5 separate regions of the Homo sapiens genome follow, and all the other regions are linked to region 3. Evidence: promoter capture Hi-C in human tissues and cell types (Jung and others, 2019). All regions are on one chromosome and are shown on one strand. The core of a region is centred on a gene start or on the middle of the fragment in contact, and the rest is flanking DNA. Distances in the headings are between cores, read along the strand shown. Region 1 overlaps NKAIN2 (sodium/potassium transporting ATPase interacting 2). Region 2 overlaps NKAIN2 (sodium/potassium transporting ATPase interacting 2). Region 3 holds the start of NKAIN2 (sodium/potassium transporting ATPase interacting 2). Region 4 overlaps NKAIN2 (sodium/potassium transporting ATPase interacting 2). Region 5 overlaps NKAIN2 (sodium/potassium transporting ATPase interacting 2).

Evidence for each region. The method cuts DNA at HindIII sites, captures the fragments that hold promoters and counts their contacts. A contact is called where the count stands out against the background at its distance.
Region 1: a fragment that was not itself captured here is called in contact with the fragment with the promoter of NKAIN2 in region 3 in 1 of the 25 tissues and cell types used here (dorsolateral prefrontal cortex).
Region 2: a fragment that was not itself captured here is called in contact with the fragment with the promoter of NKAIN2 in region 3 in 1 of the 25 tissues and cell types used here (spleen).
Region 4: a fragment that was not itself captured here is called in contact with the fragment with the promoter of NKAIN2 in region 3 in 3 of the 25 tissues and cell types used here (dorsolateral prefrontal cortex, hippocampus and mesenchymal stem cells).
Region 5: a fragment that was not itself captured here is called in contact with the fragment with the promoter of NKAIN2 in region 3 in 2 of the 25 tissues and cell types used here (dorsolateral prefrontal cortex and mesenchymal stem cells).

The regions. Positions count from the first base shown.
Region 1 is chr6:124,507,055-124,509,754 of GRCh38, forward strand. The region is part of intron 3 of NKAIN2 (sodium/potassium transporting ATPase interacting 2); the gene reads left to right. Among named protein-coding and RNA genes, the nearest start is that of RNF217, 450 kb to the right of the region's middle. The HindIII fragment of the contact is 3,829 bases long and covers 1-2,700 here.
Region 2 is chr6:124,395,119-124,397,818 of GRCh38, forward strand. All of the region lies in intron 3 of NKAIN2 (sodium/potassium transporting ATPase interacting 2), which reads left to right. Among named protein-coding and RNA genes, the nearest start is that of RNF217, 570 kb to the right of the region's middle. The HindIII fragment of the contact is 7,615 bases long and covers 1-2,700 here.
Region 3 is chr6:123,802,429-123,805,128 of GRCh38, forward strand. It overlaps NKAIN2 (sodium/potassium transporting ATPase interacting 2), which reads left to right and starts at 1,437. Exons shown (of 7, transcript NM_001040214.3): 1 at 1,437-1,826. The coding sequence starts at 1,773. RefSeq lists an enhancer at 193-242. The HindIII fragment of the contact is 12,261 bases long and covers 1-2,700 here.
Region 4 is chr6:124,559,030-124,561,729 of GRCh38, forward strand. All of the region lies in intron 3 of NKAIN2 (sodium/potassium transporting ATPase interacting 2), which reads left to right. Among named protein-coding and RNA genes, the nearest start is that of RNF217, 400 kb to the right of the region's middle. The HindIII fragment of the contact is 6,104 bases long and covers 1-2,700 here.
Region 5 is chr6:124,576,400-124,579,099 of GRCh38, forward strand. The region is part of intron 3 of NKAIN2 (sodium/potassium transporting ATPase interacting 2); the gene reads left to right. Among named protein-coding and RNA genes, the nearest start is that of RNF217, 380 kb to the right of the region's middle. The HindIII fragment of the contact is 6,037 bases long and covers 1-2,700 here.

The sequences.
Region 1 (2,700 bases), core at 35-2,534, 700 kb after region 3:
TTGCTCAAGTTAAGAGTTCCAAATTTATAATAACAAAGAAGAAAGGATAAGCATTTTTAAAGTTTTTTGCACAGATTACCAAATTTCACTTTGGGAAGGTTTTACTGACTTTTATTTGTACCAGCAAAGTACGCGAGGGTTTGTTTCACTGCACCCTTGAAAATGTGGGGCATATTATTCTTTGAGTTGTGAAATTTGCATTTGTAGTCTATGTGATGTGTGAGATAAAGATCTAGGCTTCCTAACAAGGAAGCAGTTTTCTCAGAACAAGTAAATGACTAAAGCTTCGTTTCTATATTGAATTGAAATGCTACCTTATCCTATATTTCTATTACAGAGCTTTAGAACTTCATATTTTTCCCATCAGTATGGGAAAATTTTTATTCTTACATCAGGACCATGATATTTTAATTATGGTGGTTTTTTGCTTGGTTTAAATATATGCTTTTGGTAGTCAGCGTATCCATCTTTAATTGCATCTAAACATTTCTCTCTATCACAACTATGATATAAATCCCTGCAGCATTTTGTGTATGTTTTCATAATATAGATGTACAGGAGGGGCAGCTTTACACATGACTTTTTAATAGACATGTAATAATAAAAGAGGACACTTAATCCTAATACTCAAAATACTACATTTTTCTGCCATTCTGTTATGTGCTGATTTATCTTTACAATATTTATGATATGAGGTTCAGTGGGACAGCAAGAACTGTTGAGTCCCTGCATTCAGCATGGTACCAAACCCGGGGACATAATAGAAAGACATTAGAAATGAGAAAAAGTAAAGAAATAGAATTCAAGGGCTCCACTCTTAAAGACTACAATATAAGTGATAATTTATGTTTAGGAAACAGACTCAAGAATTTAAGTTTAGAACACATACTAACAAACAGGTAAAAACACCCAATTAGGCCAGGCACAATAGCTTACGCCTGTAATCCCTACATTTTGGCAGGCCAAGGCAGAAGGATCACTTGAGTCCAGGAGTTTGAGACCAGCCTGGGCAATATGGTGAGACCCCATCTGTACCAAAAGAAAAAAAAAAAAAAAGCTGGGCACGATGGCACACACCTGTAGTCCTAGCTACTAGAGAGGCTAAGGTGGGAAGATCACTTGAGCTTGGGAGGTTAAGGCTGTAGTGAGCAGTGATCATGCCACTGCACTCTAGCCTGAGTGACAGAGTAAGATCCGGCCTCAAAAAAATAAAAACCAAAAAACAAAAAACAAAAAACCCACTCAATTAGTCAGAGAAAATGAAATGAGCTTGTATTAGTCTTTTTTTTTTCTTTTCTTTTCTTTTTTGAGATGGAGTCTCGCTCTGTCACCCAGGCTGGAGTGCAGTGGCTTGATCTCGGCTCGCTGCAAGCTCCGCCTCCCGGGTTCACGCCATTCTCCTGCCTCAGCCTCCCTAGTAGCTGGGACTACAGGCGCCACCATGCCCGGCTAATTTTTTTTTGTATTTTTAGTAGAGATGGGGTTTCACCGTGTTAGCCAGAATGGTCTCGATCTCTTGACCTCGTGATCTGCCCGCCTCGGCCTCCCAAAGTGCTGGGATTACAGGTATGAGCCACCACGCCTGGCCATGAGCTTGTATTAGTCTTTAGGCTGCTGTAACAAAGTACCACAAGCTTAAACAACCAAAAATTATTATTATGCAGTTCTGGAGGCTAGCAGTGAAATCAAGGTGTTGGAAGAGCCGTATTCCTGCTCCTGGCTTCTGGTTGTTGCAGACAATCTTCGATTTTGGTTTGCAGCTGTAAAGGAAGCTCTGCCTTCATCATCACATGACCATCTTCTCTCTGTGCATCTATCTCATCATATAGCATTCTTCTCTCTGTGTGCTTTCTCCTTGTTTTAAAAGGACACCAGTCATATTGGATTAAGGGTCCGTCCTGTTCCAGTATGACCTCATTTTAATTAATTACAACTGAAATTATCCTACCTATAAATAAGGTTACATTATGATGCCCTGCGGCTTAGGACTTCGATATATCTTTTTAGGAAACACAACTCAATTCATAACAGTTATCTTTAAGTCAAGGGGTGAGTAAATAACACTGTAGAAGTAGTGTGGGATGGAATTCCAATCGCTGCCTTCCCAACAAGTAATAAGTGCACATTCAGTTTAGAGGAAGTTATCTTTCACTGGGCAATCAGCTTTGAGACAATTTTATCTGATGATTAAGATTCAAGAGACTATGCCATTATCAATAGGACTTAGAAAGGGTGGATGAAGGAAAGAATTCATAATTAACTCTGCAAAGTTTATGATCCTAGAGAACCGAAAGAAGACAATGCCAGCTACATGAATGAGTAGTACACTTTACCCATGACTTTGCTGCATATATACTCGGTTTTGTTCTTCTATCAGTATTAGTAATAGACTGCCTTATTATAGGTCATCGTTGGGCTAATGTAAATTATTTTTCCTGCAGTTTATCTTGCTAGTTAGACGTCTTTATTTCGTTCTACCACAACACTTGCATCTGTGAACAAAAAGTGTTTGGTGAGCTCATGACTTGTCTGACCATCTGCCACTCACTCAGGAAATTGCTGCATTTATGCAAATACCCACCCAGTAATTTGTGAGCAAGAAGCCAAGGTGTTTGATTAAAGTAATTAATTTTCTCACGTCATCCTTAAAATGAGCAAGATGCAGAACCAGGTGGTTTGGCTAGTACCTTCTAAGTTGAC
Region 2 (2,700 bases), core at 18-2,517, 590 kb after region 3:
AAAATAGGTACAAAGTAATTGAAATAAATCTTCTCATGAATATTTTAATACTTCAAATTTGAAGGTACCCCCTTTTTCCTGATGTTCTCAATATGCTTGCCAACACTGTCCTATTCCCACAGGATGAACATCCAAACTCCATCCAAGTCATAGGTGATTCCAGAGAGAAATCTTCTATGAAATTCTTCCATCTGTCATATTTTGAATTTTGCATTTTTACCTTTTATACTGAAAATTATTCCTGTTATTTCATTTACCAAATAGTGTATTCTTTATTTATGGTTATAAGTGGATATCATAGATACACTTATAACAAGTTACTAACAACATTAAAACCCATAAATTAATCTCATTCAGTGGTAAACACATAATGTTGCATTCTAGTTTTCCAAAAGAGATAAAAGAAATGGTTAATAAAATTGAGATACTCATGGATGTCTCTAATACCAGCTGACTTGGAAAGGTAAACATCTCAGTCACAACTGAAACTTAGCATGTGAGTTAGAGGAATGTAATATTAAATTCCTCTCTTAAACCCTTCAGATCATTATCCCCATTTCACTTTTAGGTAAAGTAACATCAGTGATGTTTTTCATTTGATTATTTCTTTGATTACATTCATAAATAGAATGGCAATGGATATGTCCAGTGTGGAAGCATTTGAATAAATAGTTGCTGAAATTGCTTTATAGGAAAATAGATCTAGTATCATTCCATGCTGAAAATATTGTTATATGTCCTATACAGAGTCTCGGAGTAATAAGTATCATTTAGTCTTGTGGTGATATATTTGCTCATTTATTCTTTAACTGTGTTCAACAAATACTTATTGAGTGACCACTGTGTGCTAAGCCTCTAGGCTCTGGGGCTACATCAGTGAACAAAACATACAAAACCTCTGCCCTCAGGAGCTTATAATCTGGTATAACTTCCATGGTACTTTGCATTTATATATACATATCTCCAGGTGCCCTCAGTCCAGGGAGAAGGCACTACTGGTTTGTTCTCTAGGACTTTATCTTATTAAACAGATGAGGTTAAAAACACTCTACCACTCAAAATGAAACAATGGGTATCTCCCAATACATGGTAAGATGCCATGGGCATCGCAAGATTTAATAATATTTAATAATTTAATAATAAATTGTTACTATTAGAATAGAATATGAAAGGGGGAAAGATAATACCAAGATGTGAAGAATAAATTTTTCAAGCAAAGAGAGTGGCTGGGAATGAGAGAGGAATTGATACAATAAAATGGGTACCAAAAAAACACAAAAGGAATAATGAATAAGACCTGCTATTTGATTAAAAAAAAAAAAAAGAAAAGAAAAAAAGAGATTCAATGAGGCTTGGAAAAAGTCTGTCACCTAGATTTGATGAAGGGCATCGGCTGACTAGTAGAGATACATAAGGGGAATAGTTTTAATGAAACACGATGAGTCAGAACTGTGATTTCAGTCATGTCATTCTGCCTTACTTAAAGGGAAGAAGGTCTAGAATCAGAGTTGCTGATGGAGAGTATGTTTCAGCAATTCAGGCCAGAGATCATTAAGAATGTGTATAGATGGAAAGGAATAAATAACTATTACAGATATTGTTGAATTAGAATTATGTGTGGGAGAGTGGGAGGTGTATGAGGCATCAAAGATGACCAAAAACTTGCTTCTGATGCATCAAAGATAGTGGCATTTCCCACAGTGATGGAAAGGTTACATTTAAAAGATGAATTCTATTTGTTTAAATTTATTTTTAACTTTAATACAGGCATTATTTAGTCTTTCTTATGGAGAAGTATTAATTATCATCAGAACATTAGAACTTTATGATTTTTGTAAGTTGTGGTGAAAATACAAAAAGGCATTAGAGAATGATTTTACTTTTTTATCTGGAAAAGGAACAGTTAACTGTTTTATTAACAGTAGTGGTTGATACTTCCATAGATCTGATAAAATAAATATGGGCCTTTGATTTTTATTCATATCTCTGATATAATTATTTAATATATCCCTAAATATAACTCTAAATACACATAATAAAGAAAATTATAATGATGGTTTTAACATTTATAGTGTAGTGTTCCTGCTTTGAAATTTTGCTCAAAGAAATTAACAGTTTGTATAAATTGCATTGTAATTTAAATAATATAAATAAATGTAATTATAATTTTTCAGTAATTTCTGATAATTATTTACTTTTTTCTAGAACACATTATGGTAGAATTCAATTCAAACATATTCAGTGCTTACCAATAATGATGACGTCTAAGAACAACGATAATATAATTACTCCAAATAATAGCTAACAATTGTGTACATTCACTGTGTACCTACCATTGGGCTGTTTTACCTCATTTAATAATAGATGATTGTCCCTGCTTTATTGATTGAGATACTGTGTCACAGAGAGTTTTTTTTTTTTAATTATAACCAGGTTTGCATTAAGCCAGATTTTGAACCCAACAATTTCAACCAATATGTTATGCAATACTAGAGTGGGCGTTGAAATGTGGAAAAAAAAGAATTTAAAAAAAAACTGTTTAAATTGTATACATTTGAAATTGTTTTCTCATGGAAATTTGTCCTTATCCATATAACAAGCATGTCAGGTAGTCAGGTGTTATTATCTCCGTTTCAAACCAGAAAACCTGGCTCAGGAAGATTAACGAATTGTGAAAGTCAAAACTGTTTTTCAGTGGTC
Region 3 (2,700 bases), core at 187-2,686:
CAGTAGGCGCCAAGTTCCAGTTGCTACAGAGAGCTCTCTGCTTGATGTGGCTTCGTCATCTTAATCTCTTAAGAAGGGTGCTAGGGAGCTGTTTGCTATTTAGCTCCCTAAACCATCCTCTTATCAATCGCGACACTTCACCCCAATGAGTCAGTTCCTCAGTGGATCTCAACAAATAATCTTCACTTCCTGGAAAAGTTAGGATTGCTTTCCTTAGCTGCCAGGGCTAAAAAGGAAACTTGGTCCTAAATATCCACGCCCCAGGGGCAGCCACTTGGGCCAGCATGTTGCGCCCTTCAGCTTTCCGCCCGCAGGTGGCAGCAGCGGGCTCCGAAGCCTGTCTCTGCAGGTAGCAGCCGCTTCACAGCTTTCAGGCCGGTGCTCAGCGGAGGCTGGTGCATCTCCACTAGGAATCCACACCCAGCTGGGACTGCTGTGAAGCTGAAGTAACTGAGTATTAAACTAGTCTCCGACTCTTTAGTATTTTAAGTGAAAACAAACAACAGTTTGAAGCAGCAACAGCAACTCATTGCATCCCTATTCCCTCCGGTTGCTAATTTTTCCCAACTCCAGCAGCAACTCGGTCCCCTTCCCCAAGCAGGGTCGGCTCCGTAGCTCTCCGCGCTCCGACCCTTCAGATCCTCGGGAGCCCAGGGGAGCCAGGTGCTGGGCGGTGCGTCCGGTGCCGCCGCGCCCCTTCTCGCCACCTCTGGCCTCTCCGCCACTCGGGCTTTCCGGCCGCTCTGGATGCCTCGGTTGCACCCCTGTTCCATGACCCCAGCTTCCTTCCCTAACCCTCCTCTTGGTCCCTTCTCCCCCGAGCGCGCGCGCACACACACACTCGGTTCGCTCCCGCGGAGTGGCTCTGGGAGCACGACCGACTTCAGCTCAGCAAACCGCGGTCATGCCGCCCAGACTCCTCGCCCCGAGGCCCCGGTCCCCGCCGCCGCCGCTTTCGCGCCGCTCCTTTCCGCCTAGACACCGCCGCCTGCGGCCGCCTGGGCGGCAGCCCCTGCGGTCCTCAAAGTTGGCCCCCTGGGAGGGGGCGGCAGGGAGCAGGATGAAGGATTTGTTGTAGGAGGAGGATTCACACATCTGGGCGAAGGGAGGGGCAGCGCCGCTGCTGGGACGCGGCGCGGACCCGCATCATTGCGCGCAGCAGCCGCTGCAGCAGCCGCCGGGGACCGCGGAGCCGGGACGCCCCCGCTCGGCCCGCGCCCCGCTCCCCGCCCCACCCCCGCCCGCCGGGCCCAGCAACGCAGGGTGCCTAGGAGCCGCGGGCTGCGCAGGGAGGCGGGCAGCGGCCCTCGCGCGCTTCTGCCGCCCCCGGAGCCGGCGCGCGGCGAGCGCAGGGCGAGCGCGCGTCGGGCGGCGGCCGCGCTGGGGGGCGTGAGGCGAGCGGCGCGGAGAGCGGCAGGGGCGAAACTTCGCGGGCCAGATGCCCGAGGGCGCGGCGGCGCTGCCAGGCTGCCGCTGCTGCCCCTGCGGGCCCCGAGCGCGCCTCCGCAGGCGGCACTGCCCGCGGCGCGGCGTGTGCACCGAGCGAGTGAAGGTATGTGTGGCGGGCGCGGCTGGAGCTGCCGCCGCCGCCGCCGCCGCGCCAGCAGGTCCTAATGCCTGTCACTTCCCAGGACGCTGGCAGCAGCAGCAGCCCGGAGCCCCCGAGCCCTCGGCAGGTTTGCGTGTCCTTCCCCGCGATCTGATTGGATAAAGTGGGGGCTCGACGGTGGCCGACGTGGGACAGTCTGGCTGTGGCAGGGGTCTCGGAAACCATGGGTTATTGCAGTGGCAGGTGCACGCTTATCTTTATCTGTGGCATGCAACTGGTAAGTGACACTTGGGTCCCCTTATTCTGTAATGTGTCTTTGAGATAGTGGGCAGGGGAGTGCAGCAAAGGGTCTGCCATTGACTAGAATGGACGAAAAAGATAAAAGAGAAGGTGACAGATATATTGCCTATATTGAAGATGATTTCAGGGAGACGCACTCTGGGGTACAGGAGAGGTGAGCCTTTCCGTTCCCACCTATTTCTGTCCCTTTTAAGACAGTTTGGCAGGTGCGGGTTAAACTTGTCTTTAATTTCTTTAGGAAAAGCAAGATGTAGCTCTTGTTCTTTATGCTTTGCATTCCTATTCATGTAACAACGTGATTGTCACCTACAATTTACCGTACAGGTTGTTAAACAGAGGAATACGGAATTTTGGACTTTTCTTCTCTATACTAATTTTGCAGTATCTTTGTTTCTTCATAGACATGTTTTTTTTCTTTTTTTAAGGAAAATGTTGTCTTTAAGTATAATGCTCTAAAAAAACCACTGTTTAGGGCACATGGTATCCTTACAACAGTCTAATTTAGACTGTTTGAGTTTTAGCCACATTGAGTTTTTAAAGTATGCAGATTGAACAAAAATACTTAGGTGAACTCAGCAACACCATTGTCATAGACGGAACCAGTAACCTTTAAATCACAATTAACACAGACAATTCCAAGAAAAACTATTCTGTCTTACATTATGCATATTATTGCTCCTGAAATAGATACTGTTGTCTGATCCTATAGGATGGAGAATTCTATGTACTTTTTGAGGAATGTTGTACAGTTGCAAAGGGGCAAGGAACCAATAATGGAAAACGTCATGTCTCTGAATTTCAATTCCCTAAGGGCAATGGAAGGAGGGTCTGAGTAGAGAGTTGAGAGGTGA
Region 4 (2,700 bases), core at 168-2,667, 760 kb after region 3:
GTACCTAATGGAAACTGGCTCAGAAAGCCAGTGTATACCAGGTATAGATTCGTTTTCCTGTTTACTCCTCGTATTCTAATACATATTTTCTGCCTTAATAAATATTTATTGGACTGATATGAATCTTGAAGTAGCAAGGTGGGGTGGAGGATGGTTGAATACAGCAGTGTCAAAGAATAAACCAATACACGTTTATTCTCTGCCTTCATGGATAATATATAAAATCCTGTGCAGAATAGAATAGATAATGGCCAATATAATAAGTGAGAGGAATGGAGACTCAGGGGTTTTGAGAGTGTGTAGCAGGGCTTTTAGCTGAGTTTTGAGTGGACATACAAGTTGTCTCAAAGAAGTGACGAGCTGAGGCTAAGTGACTCATTTGTCATGGATCAATGTTCCTAGCCTTCAGCGATAGACGATTCCTTACCGTCTCAACTACGCACTTCTCAACATTATGGCTGACCCTGCTGGGATAGTCCTGAGGACTGCTTCTATATATCCCAACTTTCCCTTCATTCTAGACAAGGAGATGAATTGTACTTTCATGCCACCTCAGAGTTAAGTTGGGCAATGTGATTCTCTTTGGCTAACAGAATGTAAGAGAAATGATATATATCATCTCTAGGCAGAACTTTTAATAACTGGCTAATGCTCTGTCACATTTTTTCCTCCTTCTATCATGCCACATAGAGGGGATGCCACGTCCTGGGTCATCCTGGGTTCTGGTCTGAGGACTACAGAAAGTGGAGCAGAGCCCCCTCAGCTAGGCAATGATAGATGTGGAAGGCGAGTAAGAAATAAACCATTTTTTTTTTTTTTTTTTTTTTTTTTTGCTTTAAGCCATCAAGATCATGAGATGGTTCACTTCCACAAGATAACCTAGACTATTCTGACTGATGCATCTGCCCACACTTCGGCTTATGTTATCTCACATTCGCCAGCACAACGTTAACACCCAGTCAAAGCACCTTTAGGTCAAAATATGAGATTAGTTCCTGTATATGGTATTAAAATGTGGCATTATGTTTTTGAGGTTTGTATTATTTATCGACAAGGAAATATATAGCATTGATATGGCTTGGCTGTGTCCCCACCCAAATCTCATTTTGACTTGTAGTTCCCATAATTCACACATCTCATGGAGGAACCAGGTGGGAGGTAATTAAATCATGGGGGCAGTTACCTCCATGCTTCTCTCATGATAGTGAGTCAGTTCTCTTGAGATTTGATGGTTTTATAAGGGACTTTTCCCCTTTTGCTTGGCACTTCTCCTTTCTGCCACCATGTGAAGAAGGACTGTTTGCTTCCCCTTCTGCCATGATTGTAAGTTTCCTGAGGCCTCCCCAGCCATGCTGAACTGTGAGTCAATTAAAACTCTTTCCTTTATAAATTACACAGCCTCAGGTATGTCTTTGTTTTGCAGTGCAAGAACGAACTAATACAAGCATCATAATTAAAAGCATGTAATCTTTGCCATTCTGGGTTTGAATCTTGGATCTTCTACTTATTACCTATGTAGCCCTAGTAAAGTTATTTAACTTTTCTGTTTCTCACTTTCTTCATCTTTCAAATGAATACAACGATGAGGCTACCCTGTATGTATACTATAAGAATTAAATGAGAACAGTGCCTGGCACATAGTAAGCATGATATAAAGATGAGCAATTATTATCATAATCCTAAGATTCTATGTGAAAAAATTCACCTTCTTAGCGAGTTTTGTTGCTTACCACATTATATCTCAGAGGAAAAGTTGAAATAATCTACTTTAAATATTATTTTTTGTTTAAATCAAAACCTGAAAAATGACCAAGAGTGAGTTTATCATTACTATAGTGCCCAGATCATTTGAAAACTTTCACCTCCTAAATGTGACTTTGCTTCCTGGAAGATGCTGCAGAGGTAGGCAGATGATTAAGGCACCAGACATTCTAGTGAAGCCCAGCAATCTTCTAGACCCAGAGGTGATAGAAAAGCAGGAATTTCTGGGCAGGTCACCTAGGAAAAGAGGCCAAGTCCTCAGCAGTGCCCTCATCAGCCCTGATGTGAGTCACTGTCTTGTTTCAGGGCACAGAGCAACAGTGATGTAAACAGAATGATTACTGAGGGGAAAAGTCCGAAGCAGGAGAAGTGATGCCACTGTAGGAGACCTTAGGATCCCAGATGCCTACAATACAAAAAGCCACATTTCATCCAAATCTGTAGCTAAAATAATCAGTTTTAACACATTTCCTTCAAGCAGTTTCGTCAACATATCTATACAGTGTATATAAATATCCCACAGCCATTCATCATCTCTTTCCCATGACATTTGCAATCTCGTGTTTTATGCAGCCAGCTATTATGTTAAACCTGGCCAATTTTGCATTTAGGCAGCATTGTGAAGTGTCATAGCATTTGATGGAATGGCAAGATTGTAAATTGCAATCTGGTCTGTGGGAAAAAATATTTTAAAAACATTAAATTTGTTTTAGTTGCTTAGCTTTCTCCCTCCCCAACCCACCACCTCAATTCTTCATATAACAAGACTTAATGAGAGGAAGATCGCAGTGCTTAAGATGTATTGTTTTCTTTCCTTTTCTTCTTCTTCTTTTTTTTCATCTATAACTGGAAAAAGAAGAGTAGCAGATTCACCTTCCAAGCTGGGGTGGATGGGAGACAGTCTTTGCATAATTCCATTGCATTACTTTAATGGTAAAT
Region 5 (2,700 bases), core at 56-2,555, 770 kb after region 3:
TTTGATGCCAGTGGTCACACTTGAACTTCTAAGCAAAAGTTAGAATTTTGGAAAAGTCATGCGAACCACACTGGGCTGGACAGCTTACAAATATATGAAGATATTTTATGTGATTCTTAGCACTATTAAGAATCGTTTTATATTTTATAAAGTAGTGGGGCAGCGTGTTAACATTTGGAAAATCTGCACAGCTCAGTGAACCAATATTTTCCAAATGAGTAATACATAATTTCAAAATATCATGCCTTGGCAAAACAATTATGCCAGATAGACCAATAAATTTCAATGTAAAAAAAAACAATGAAAAGTTCACTGATAGGGTTGTAAATATTGGCACGTTCCAAATACTCTTTAAGAAACGCACTTGTAGACTTTTGTATAGTGTCAAAAAAGATCCATACCTCAAACTGTATACAAAAATTAAGTTAAAATGAATCATAGACCTAAATGTAAACCCAAAGCTATAAAACTGCTAGAACAAAACAGAGAAGAAAACTTCATGACTCTGGTTAGGCAAAGACCTCTTAAATAAGACACCAAAAGCACAATCCGTTTGTTAAAATGATACATTGGGATTTGTAAGAACTGAAACCTCTGCTTTTTTGAAACATGGGTAAGGAAATGAAAGATAAATATTTTCAAATTATATACCTGATAATGGGCTTACCATCAGACTATATCAAGTATTTTCAAAACTCAAAGGAAAAATATTCAGTTAAAAAATGAGCAAGAAAGGAGATGGAGCAAGATGGCTGAATAGAAGCCTTCACCAGTCATCCTCCCTGCAGGAACACCAAATTGAACAACTATCCACACACAAAAATTACCTTCATAAGAACCAAAATCAGGTGAGTGATCACTGTACCTGGTTTTATGCTCATATTACTGAAAAAGGCAAGGAAGAGGAAAGGAAAGACAGTCTTGAATTGCTGTCACCACCCCTCCTGCACCCCCCAGCAGCAGCTGCATAGTGTGGAGCAAGAATCTGTGTGCTTGGGGGACAGAAGGCACAGTGATTGTGAGATTTTCCATTAGAACTTGGTGCTGCCCTGTCACAGTGGAAAACAACCCTGGCCAGAACTCAGCCAGCACTCACAGAGGAAGCATTTAGACCAGCCCTCACCAGAAAGAAATTGCCCTTCCCAGACGTCAGAACCTGAATTCTGGTAAGCCTCACCAATGCAAGCTAAAGTGCTCTTGGATTCTAAATAAACTTGAAAGGCAGTGTAGGCCACAAGGACTGCAATTCCTGGGCAAGTTCTGGTGCTGTGCTTCGCTCACAGCCAGTGGATTTAGGGGTATGCAACCTAATGAGATAATAGCTGGGGCAGCCAAGGGAGTACTTGCACCACCCCTCCCACCACCTCAGGCAGTGCAGCTCACAGCTCTAGGAGAGACTCTTTCCCTCTCCTTGAGGAGAGGACAAGGAAAAGTAAAGAGGACTTTATCTTGCAACTTAGATACCACCTCAGCCACAGTAGGACAGAGCACCAGGCAGAATCCTGAGGCCCGCATTCCAGGCCGTACCTTCTAGACAACATTTCTAGACATGTACTAGGCCAGAAGGGAACCTGCTATCTTGAAGTAAAGTACTTAGTCCTGGCAGGATTCATCAGCTGCTGATTAAAGAGCCCTTGGGCCCTGAATAGTCAACAGTGGTAGCCAGGAAGTACTCACCATGGGCCTTGGGTAAGACTCAGAGACAAGCTGGCTTCAAGCATGACCTAGCATATTCCAAGCCATAGTGGCTACAGGGAGAGCAACCTTCTGCTTGAGAAAAGGGGAGGGAAGAGTGAAGGAGACTTTGTCTTGCAGCTTCCTTACCAGCTCTGTCACAGTTAGGTAGAGTACCAAGCAGGATCTTGGGGTCCCTGATTCTAGGCCTTAGCTCTTGGAAAGAATTTCTGGACCTGCTCTGCTCTGGGTCAGAGAGCATCCTACTGTCCTGAAGGGAGAGTCTCAGACCTGGTAGCATTCAGCACAAGCTGACTAAAGAGCCCTTGGGCCTTGAGTGAACATTGGCAGTAGCCAGGCAGTACTTGCTATGGGCCTGGATCTATGCCAGCCACAGAGAGAGACTCCTCTGCTTGTGGAAAAGAGAGGAAAGAGTGGGAAGGACTTCATCTTGTGGCTTGGATGCCAGTTCAGCCTCAGTAGAATAGAGCAACAGGTAGATTTCTAAGGGTTTCAACTCTGGGCCCTGCTCCTGTATGGCATCTCTGAACCTACTGGGGCCAGGGGCAACTCATCACCCTGAAGGGAAGAAAACGGCATGGCTAGTTTTGCCACCTGCTAATTATAGAACCCTAGGGCCTTGAGTGAACGTAAGTGGTAGCCAGGCAGGCCTTGGGTGAGACTCAGTGCTGTGCTGGCTTCAGGTCTGACCCAGCACAGTCCCAGTGGTGGTGGCCAGAGGGTGCTTTTGTCACCCCTCCCCCAGCTCCAGGCAGCTCAGCGCAGAAAGAGACAGAAAGAGAGATAGCAGGGTGGAGAGAGAGAGACTCTTTGTTTAGGAGAAAATAAGGGAAGAGAATAAGAGTCTGTGCCTGGTATTCTAGAGAATTATTCTAGATCTTAACTAAGACCATCAGGGCAGCATCTCTATGAGTTTGCGCAAGCCACAGCATTATTGAGCTTGGGGTACTCCCTAATGCAAATATGGCTGCAGTGATCAAAAACTTAGATTACAACACCCAAATC